Linked DNA regions of Homo sapiens: regions 1 and 3 are each linked to region 2. Evidence: promoter capture Hi-C in 16 types of primary human blood cells and fetal thymus (Javierre and others, 2016). All regions are on one chromosome and are shown on one strand. The core of a region is centred on a gene start or on the middle of the fragment in contact, and the rest is flanking DNA. Distances in the headings are between cores, read along the strand shown.

Region 1 (2,700 bases), core at 57-2,556, 61 kb before region 2:
CTCCCAGGTTCAAGCGATTCCCCTGCCTCAGCCTCCCGAATAGATGGGATTACAGGTGTGCACCACCACACCTGGCTAATTTTTGTATTTTTAGTAGAGACGCGGTTTCACCATGTTGGTCAGGCTGGTCTCGAACTCCTGACCTTAAGTGATCCACCCGCCTCGGCCTCCCAAAGTGCTGGGATTACAGGCGTGAGCCACAGCGCCCGGACTGCATTGCTAAATTCTATCTGATGGTATTTTATGAAAGGGTTTTGCATCAAGATTGATCTGCAGTGTGTGCACATACAGGCACATGCCCATGCCAGCTATCTTTGTGAAGTTTTGGTACTAAGATCATTTTGGTATCTTAAAAAATCTTGAAAGTCTGTCTTTTGCTCTATACTTAGAAAAAGTTGAAATAGTAATGTGACCATCTGTCAGGTTTACATGGGGCATTCTAGTTTATACTGGTTCTCTCAATTAAAGCTCCCTTCAATAAACTATATAGTTACCCTACTTAATATCAATATCCCTGACTATTTGAAGAATTTACTTGGGCTATCTGGGGGCCTGCACTTTGAATTTAGAAAGCATCTTTTGATAACATTTTTATTTCTTTCATGGTTACTGACTCTCTCCTGGGACCACTTTAATAAAGTAAATTTTCCTAGAAATACCACTTACTTCACCTATCTCCATAGTGTTTCATGTAGTACCTAACAATATTTTTTGGTTACTTCTCCTTTTTGATATCTGATATTGTTGATTTTTTACCTTTGTTTTGGTAATAAAGAGATATTTATTTATTGTAAAAAAATTTAAAATACAGACACATAGAAAAAAATAGTTGAAAATTACCCACAATCCCATCACCCAGAAACAATTACTTTTGACACTGTAATAAAAAGCATTCCAGATTTTTATCTGTGTACATACCTACCTATCTACATAATGCAATGTTTATTAACTTGCCCTTTCCATATTTGTTGTGAACACTTTTTCCATATCAGTAAATATAGACTTACATCTTCAATTTCAATGGCTGTGAAGTATGGCTATTCCATGACCTTCTTATACATATTTCTAATAGGGGATAAGCAGGTAGGTTAATTTTTTTCAACTATTTTTAACAGTGCTGCATTGAACATTATATAAGATCTTTGTACGTTCATTTTGTTGGACAGATTATTCAAAGTAGAAGTGCTAAATCAAAGATAGATACATTTATAACAATAGTTTTTGCTTATAAGAGATGTATTTATTTCATATATAAAAAAAGCAGCAAAAAACAAAGTAAAAGTTTCCTGCAATCCATTATCCAGTGGTAGCCTCTGTTAACATTTTGTTATAGATATCCACCAAGTCTTAGTGCACATTCTTTTTTAACCATATTATACATACCAAGTTGTCACCTCCTTACCATATTATGCCATCTTTTCCTACACAATATCATTCTATATAGCTACAAGGTACTCAGTGGATAAAAGAGCCATAATTTGATTATCTACTAATGGAAATTTAAGGTGTTTCCAATATTTGAGATTAGAAACAATGCTATCATGAATATCATTGTCTTATTTTTTGGCCCCTTGTCCAATTACTTCCTAAGGTTAAATTTCCAGCAGTGGAACTGCTAGATCAGAGGATATGTATAGCAAGGCTTCTTGTAAACACATCACCCTTGAGAAAGTCTACATCAATTGTCATTCCCAACAGATCTGACAGTGCTTGTTCTCCACCTCTACTTCAACCTTGGTATGATCATTCTTCTTAGCCTTAGACTTAGATAACAAAAAGTGGCACTTTTTTAAGTTTGCATTTTCAAAAGTTACTAACAAATTGGATATTTTAATGTGCTTTTTGGCCCTTCTCAATAAATGGCAAATCACTTTCTCTAATCTATTAGTATCTCTCTAAACACAAAATAGCCATAATAAATTATATTTGTTTCTTAAAATCTTAGGTCCTATTTTGATGGAGAATTTATGTTAAAAGAAAAAAATGCATGCCTTGTACATTTAAAAATAGCTCTGGCACTTCTGCTTGGAACTTTGCTTTAATCCAACTCAGACAAGAGAACGACCATTTTCTCCATGTTGCATTAATAAAAATTTGTACTAGGCATCATTATGAAATATTTGCTAGAACACAGAATTCAGTACAGCACAGGTACACCCTCAAATTTTCAGTAAAGTATAAGCATTTTAATAAATATTTTATGACACAGTTTCATCTCCAACTGCTCCATGGAAAAGACCATTAAAATGTTACTAGTGGCAAGTTTTGTTTCATCACAATGCCAACATCTATAATGTTTGAAATATTAAAAATTAGAAGCACAGTTTTTCTCAGAGCTTTCGTTTTTAAATAAGCACCCATTATGAACAATTGTAACTGATTTCCTTTGGAGTAAAAACATGTAAACACTCACTTTTTTAAAAAAACAGTTAAGAACAAATGACCTGCAAGTGAATTCAAGATAATGAGCAGTGACTGTAGCATTCCATCAAAGCATTTTTGTTGAAATGCTTTAAAACAATATTCAGAATGCATGTTCTAAAAGGCAGGGAATTTACATGGGCCTTCTCCACTTTTTTTTAAAATAAAAATTAGTTTTATTTTAAAATTAGTTTTATTTAGCTTAAAATGCTTCAGTATTTTAAATAACCATCACTAAGGAAATCAAGGTAATTACAATTTCAAAATCAATTACAAAAT
Region 2 (2,880 bases), core at 162-2,661:
GTGTTATTTCTGATCTGTAACACGCTCCCTTTAAAAAAGCATCAGAGTAACTAGGATTGCCTTGTTCGGAGCCCTGATTTCAGTAGATTCGATGAAAGAATTAATCAATCTACCCAAATAACTTCTCCGGAATAGGTTTCTACTCAGCCACGCTGGGCACCAGACAAGAGAGCTGGGGGTTGGGGGGGATAAGAAATGACAACACGCTCATCTGCATAGATGCCAGATAAGCAGACATTTGTTTTCTTCTGTTCTGGCGACTCCTGGCACCGGCATAGTAAATCAAACCCGGGCATTCTCCCTCCCCAGTGCCCCTACACTCCCAGCCCCTGCCCCAGATGTTGAAGCGTCACGTTGACCAGGCTGGGGGAGAAAGCCTGGGAAACGCAGAAGTCTGTTGCTGCATTTAGACTGGAACCATACCGCACCTGTTCAATCCGGCACCAGCGCCAGAAATGAGCAGAACACCAACTCGCAAGCCCCTCTTGAGATACCAGGGCGCCTAACAAGTTCACCGCTGTTTCGTACCGGGGGAGGGTGGTGGGAGACCTTTCCTTCCGCTGCCAAACTCTGCAGGTTCCCCGGAAAAGGGGAGAGTACTCCTATTTAAGTGAACCCAGAGTGATCTCCGAGTGTCACTGCGGCCCCGGGGATCCGGGTGACGAGCGGGTGGGTGTCCGTTGGGAGCGCGCAGCTGTGGCCCCCGCGGAACGAAGGTCCGCTTCGGTGGCCACGGGCGCCCTCTCCACGTCACCCCCAGCACAACGCAGACAGGCAAAGTGGAAGGGTAGAGAGACCGACGGGTTTCAGCAGAGATGCAGAGCCCCTAAGCGCAAGCCCCTCAGAAGGGTCTAGTGGGAAGGGGCCGGGGACGCACAGGAAACTTACCTCACCCGGGCAGCATTCGGGTGCCTCCGCTACCAAGACCAGTTGCGCCACAGTCTGCAAGTTATCGGGACGTTGTCGCTTCCCCACAGCGAAGGGAGAGCAGTGCAGGCGAGGGGCGGGAGGGGCGGGAGGGGCGGGAGGGCGGAGGGGGCGGCGGGCGGGGCCGGGGCCGGGGGCAACGCTGAGGGCGGGCAGGTGCCGGGGCTGGAGCCGCGGGGCCAAACTCGCTCCGGACGCGCCTTGGCGGGGGCGCGCGGCTACGAGTGTGCAGTGCGCGCGCGCCGCGGCGAGTGTGTGTGTCCCCGCTTTCCCCTTCCTTCCCCGCCGGTCCTCCGGCCAGACGGAGCAGCGAGCGGCCGCCAAAGCCCAGCAGCTCCGAGCGGCTCCACTGCCGGGCGCAGCCTCGCCGCGGCGCGTTCGGGGACCGGGAACCGGGGACCGAGAGGAGCAGCAGCGGCGCCCGCCGGGCTCGGGCGCGGGTTCCCGCTTGGTGCGCGCCGGAGTCGGAGCGAGGCGCAGAGAGAGCCGGCTGCGCGGCGGCTGCCGCGGCTGGGGAGGCTGCAGGCCCCGCCTGCCGGCCGCCCAGGCTCTTCCCCTTTTCTCTCCACCCACTTGCCCCATCCCCGCAAGCCCTGCAGCGAAGGCAGACCGGTTTGCAGCACCTGCCGCAACAGCGGCCGGAGCTTCAGCCGCAGTGGGCTGGGCGTCTCAGCCGGTGTGTGGGGACCGGGCGCCTGTCCCGCCGCCGCTGGCCCAGACTGAGAGCGGGGTTGGGGTGGGCCCCTGGAATTGGCGGGTGCCTCCAAGACTCCAGGGGTTCCCGGCCGTTCTCAGCGTCTTGAAGCCCTGCGAAACAGGGCTGTGGGGATAGGGCGTCCCCTTTCCCCAGGCCACAGAACTCAGCTACGCCTGGTCGCCCGCCTGCTAGACTCTGCCTGAGGCGGCGAAGCCGGCACTTGAGCGCAGGCGCCCCCTTCACGAGGAAGGGACAGGCCAGGATTCCAAGGCGTTGGTTGCTCCCATTCTAAGGACAGCAGGTGTTCCCAGCAAGTAAGACCTACCCAACAGGTAGGGGTAGGCTGGCGAGGAGGTCCTAGGAGAGAGAAGCTGGGGGATGTCATGGGAAAGCGCTGTGACGGGGCTGAGGGCCAATTCCTACTGATAGCGCTTAGTGGGCTGGGGGCACTTGCAACGTCACCTGATGTCAGTCTAGCTGCGAAGAGGGTAGGGGTCAGATCTAAAGGACTCCTTTGGGAAAATGCTATCATGAAAGCTAAAGCTAAATTCACTTAATAGGAACCAAAAGGTAGCGGATCCTTCGCGGCTGAATTGAAGCAAATGGTATTTTTCAGCCTCATCACTTCCTTCCACTTACCCTTCTTTACCAAAAACAACGCCGGTGGAAAACGTGGGATACATTCTGTCTGGGGAATAACAACATTTCATGATCCTTATCTTCAGAGATCTCTGGCTTCCAGTTTCTGTTTGAAGGATACTCCCTTAGTTCTCTGCAAATGAACACCTCTTTTCAGTTTTGTAATCTCTTTGTTTCTCTCACCCCCCACCTTGAGTGAGTCTGCTATGGTTTAATATCAGCCTTGAATCAAGTGCAATAATTTCTTGATAACAGAAGTATCTATTTTTTTTTAGCTTTACTGAGCCATAATTGACAAATAAAACAAATATCTGTTATTCTTCAGCTGTTTTCCCAGCCTGCTTCTTGCAGATGTGGCTGGCCATTACTGAGAGATTTAAGGTATGGTTTGTTTAGAACCCTGTGACTTGGGTCTGGTTTTCTCCTGGCATCCTAGACGCTTCACAGCTCAGAGCAGGAGGAACATACATCTAGTCCAGCCCTCCCGCTTTACAGATGAGGAAACTAAGGTCTCAAGACATTAAGTAACCCAAGGACCAGAACACAGTTTCCCTGACTCTCAATCCCTGAACAATAACTAGCAGAAATATTGTATTAACAAAGTTCAAGATGGGGTG
Region 3 (2,852 bases), core at 234-2,733, 55 kb after region 2:
ACCTCTCAGAGTTCCTCCTTTATCTTTCACTCACTTTCAATATACATTGCATCAACCCCCATATTTCTTTTTTCATCACTCCCCAAACCCCTCCCACAGCCCTAACCCAAGTTTCTCTCCTTTTCTTCAGGTTCTTAAATATTATATTTGCTGCATGACCAAAGGTCAAAGTTGCATCTATTTTTAGGTGATGAAATGATGACTATTGACTAACATTAGTAATCACTTTCTCCAACATTTCTGAAAAGGTTTCTATCTACTTTGTCATATTGCTTTGAAAATTAGTCCTTGAAAACCATAAAAAACATACTGAAGCCCTAAATAGAATGTTGCATTGTACAAACTCCTTCATAACCATGAGTCATTCCTCACAACAGTCCTGTGGGGTACGCCACATTCTTAATCATATTTCACAAATGGAGACAGTGAGGTAAAGAGAAAGCTGTGGCATAATGGGATCAACACAGATAAAGTGTACTGAGGGCCTCACATGAAATTCAAATAGTGTAGCTCCCATTTTGTAGATAAGAATCCTACTACAATGGGGATACACTTCTCACTCCATAATAGCAACCATCAGAGGCAAGAGGGATTATCATGGTAGCTTCAGTTCTCATCCCTCCATCTTTCTTAATAATTTTGCAGCATAAAAGTCCAACATGGTAGACCATCTGGCAAACTGGGACCTTCCTTAGATGGGGAAAGGAGAAGAAATGGGACAGTGGGGCCAGCATCCTCTTTGGTGTAAGACCTAGAAACACTTACATGCCTGATAATTTTCCCCCGACAGATTCACATGCACATATCTGAAAAGTATACCCACATGTTTGTAGTAAGAGCTGCATGAAGTTTTCTTTTTCTCCTCCTTTGAGAGACAGAGTCTTGCTCTGTTGCCCAGGCTGGAGTGCAATGGTGAGATCTCAGCTCACTGCAACCTCTGCCTCCCAGGTTCAAGCAATTCTCCTGCCTCAGCTTCCCAAGTAGCTGGGACTACAGGTGTGCATCACCACACCCAGCTAATTTTTGTATTTTTCAGTAGAGACAGGATTTCACTATATGTTGGCCAGGCTGCTCTTGAACTTCTGACCTCAGGTAATCCACCTGCCTCGGCCTCCCAAAGTGCTGGGATTACAGGCGTGAGTCACCGTGCCTGGCCTTCATGAAGTTTTCCTTGTCATTTAAACTCTCTGGGTATCTGTTTCCTCATATGTAAAAGGACCATGAAAAGTAGTGTTTATTTCCTAGAGTGGTCTTGAGGGTTAAATGAGATCATACTTGTAAAGCATTTAGGAATAGAGCATAGTACATGGCAAGGGCTGGAGGAATATTGTAGTTATTATTACTTAGTAGCAGTGGTCATCATACATGTGGTAGATAGAATTACTGTAAAAATACACCTTATACTAGCTTATAGGCAATACGCAATTCACCTTAAGCAGAGGCCTGTGATTAATGTAAGTAAATATTTGGATAGTAATGTTGGCAATGGGAAATGTAATAAAATTTTACACTTTCCTCTGTAAGAACTTCCTTATTCAAAACTGTGATAAAACAATACTTTTTGCCTATCTATTGAAACACCAGTATTATCATCTTTCTACCTAATTTAGTAACAACCAGCTTGTATCGAGTATTTACAATGCACTGGATACTCTGCTAAAAACTTAATAGTTTTACCTTCTTTAACTACAACAGTAACTGCAAAAGATAGGGGTTATTATAATTACCTTCAGTTTTTAGGTGAGGAGAGTGAGGCTTCAGAAAATTTCCTTAACAAGAATGATGAGGACATTTTTCAGCTGGGCGCGGTGGCTCATGCCTGTAATCCCAGCACTTTGGGAGGCCGAAGGGGACAGATCATCTGAGATTGGGAGTTTGAGACCAGCCTGACCAACATGGAAAAACCCTGTTTCTACTAAAAATACAAAATTAGCCAGGCATGGTGGCAGGCACCTGTAATCCCAGCTATTCAGGAGGCTGAGGCAAGAGAACTGCTTGAATCTGGGAGGCAGAAGTTGTGGTGAGTCGAGATTGTGCCATTGCACTCCAGCCTGGGCAACAAGAGCAAAACTCTGTTTAAAAAAAAAAAAAAAAAAAAAAGAATGAGGACATTTTTCTTTCTTTGTGTCTCTCTATTATCTATCCTAAAGATTTGTTGAATGGATGAAATGATAGTTAAACCTTACCAGTCTTTATTTTGGCCCTTAACCTTACATCCAAAACAGATTTCAAAATCAATTATGAAAACAGGCACAATCATATTTTAGGAATAAAACAATTTCCCCAAGCCATTTTAGGAAGAAAATGAGGATGAAAAGGTAAAACAACACAAGCATCTTGGTGGGACACAGCTGGGAGATACGCAGATTTTATGATTGGAAAGGGTTTCACAGGAGGGTGGATGGCTACGATCACAGAAGAAATCATCTCACCTTCCAAATCATCAGTAGGGATAAAGTGGAGCTGGAGATGCCATCCTGCTTTCTTCATGCTCTTTGTATTTCGAGGACTAGTGCTTTTTGGGCTGAGCTATTTGAGCTGCTGAGACAGAAACTGAAATGCAGGCTACCCATCAGCACACACAGCTGCTGCTATCATCCATAGTCTTGAGAGATGGGCAGGTTCAGAGGTCTGGGCAGGCCACACAACAACCAGGGCTTACCCACTAAGGTTAGATGACTTCTCTTCCTCATTACCCATAGGGTAATATGCAGTGGCTCAGTGGCTCTCAGGATAGTCACAACTCTACTGTGTTGCCCTTGGTAAGCTGGAAATTATACCCTTGTTGACATGCTCTGCAGGCTGCTGTTAAAAATGCCAAACAGCAAATTTATCCACTGCTAGGTTCTTAA

What was found. Contacts are between HindIII fragments. The CHiCAGO score rates a contact against its expected background, and 5 or more counts as called.
Region 1: a fragment that was not itself captured here is called in contact with the fragment with the promoter of PIP5K1B in region 2 in 4 of 17 cell types (total B cells, naive B cells, erythroblasts and 1 more); the score reaches 12.3 in total B cells.
Region 3: a contact is called between a fragment that was not itself captured here and the fragment with the promoter of PIP5K1B in region 2, in 2 of 17 cell types (total B cells and naive B cells). The highest score is 10.9, in total B cells.

Annotation. Positions count from the first base shown.
Region 1 is chr9:68,764,824-68,767,523 of GRCh38, reverse strand. All of the region lies in intron 2 of PIP5K1B (phosphatidylinositol-4-phosphate 5-kinase type 1 beta), which reads right to left. Among named protein-coding and RNA genes, the nearest start is that of PABIR1, 14 kb to the left of the region's middle. The HindIII fragment of the contact is 2,928 bases long and covers 1-2,700 here.
Region 2 is chr9:68,703,771-68,706,650 of GRCh38, reverse strand. It overlaps PIP5K1B (phosphatidylinositol-4-phosphate 5-kinase type 1 beta), which reads right to left and starts at 1,411. Exons shown (of 16, transcript NM_003558.4): 1 at 889-1,411. RefSeq lists enhancers at 194-283, 972-1,897 and a silencer at 1,034-1,553. The HindIII fragment of the contact is 6,803 bases long and covers 1-2,880 here.
Region 3 is chr9:68,648,972-68,651,823 of GRCh38, reverse strand. No RefSeq gene overlaps it. Among named protein-coding and RNA genes, the nearest start is that of PIP5K1B, 55 kb to the left of the region's middle. The HindIII fragment of the contact is 5,031 bases long and covers 1-2,852 here.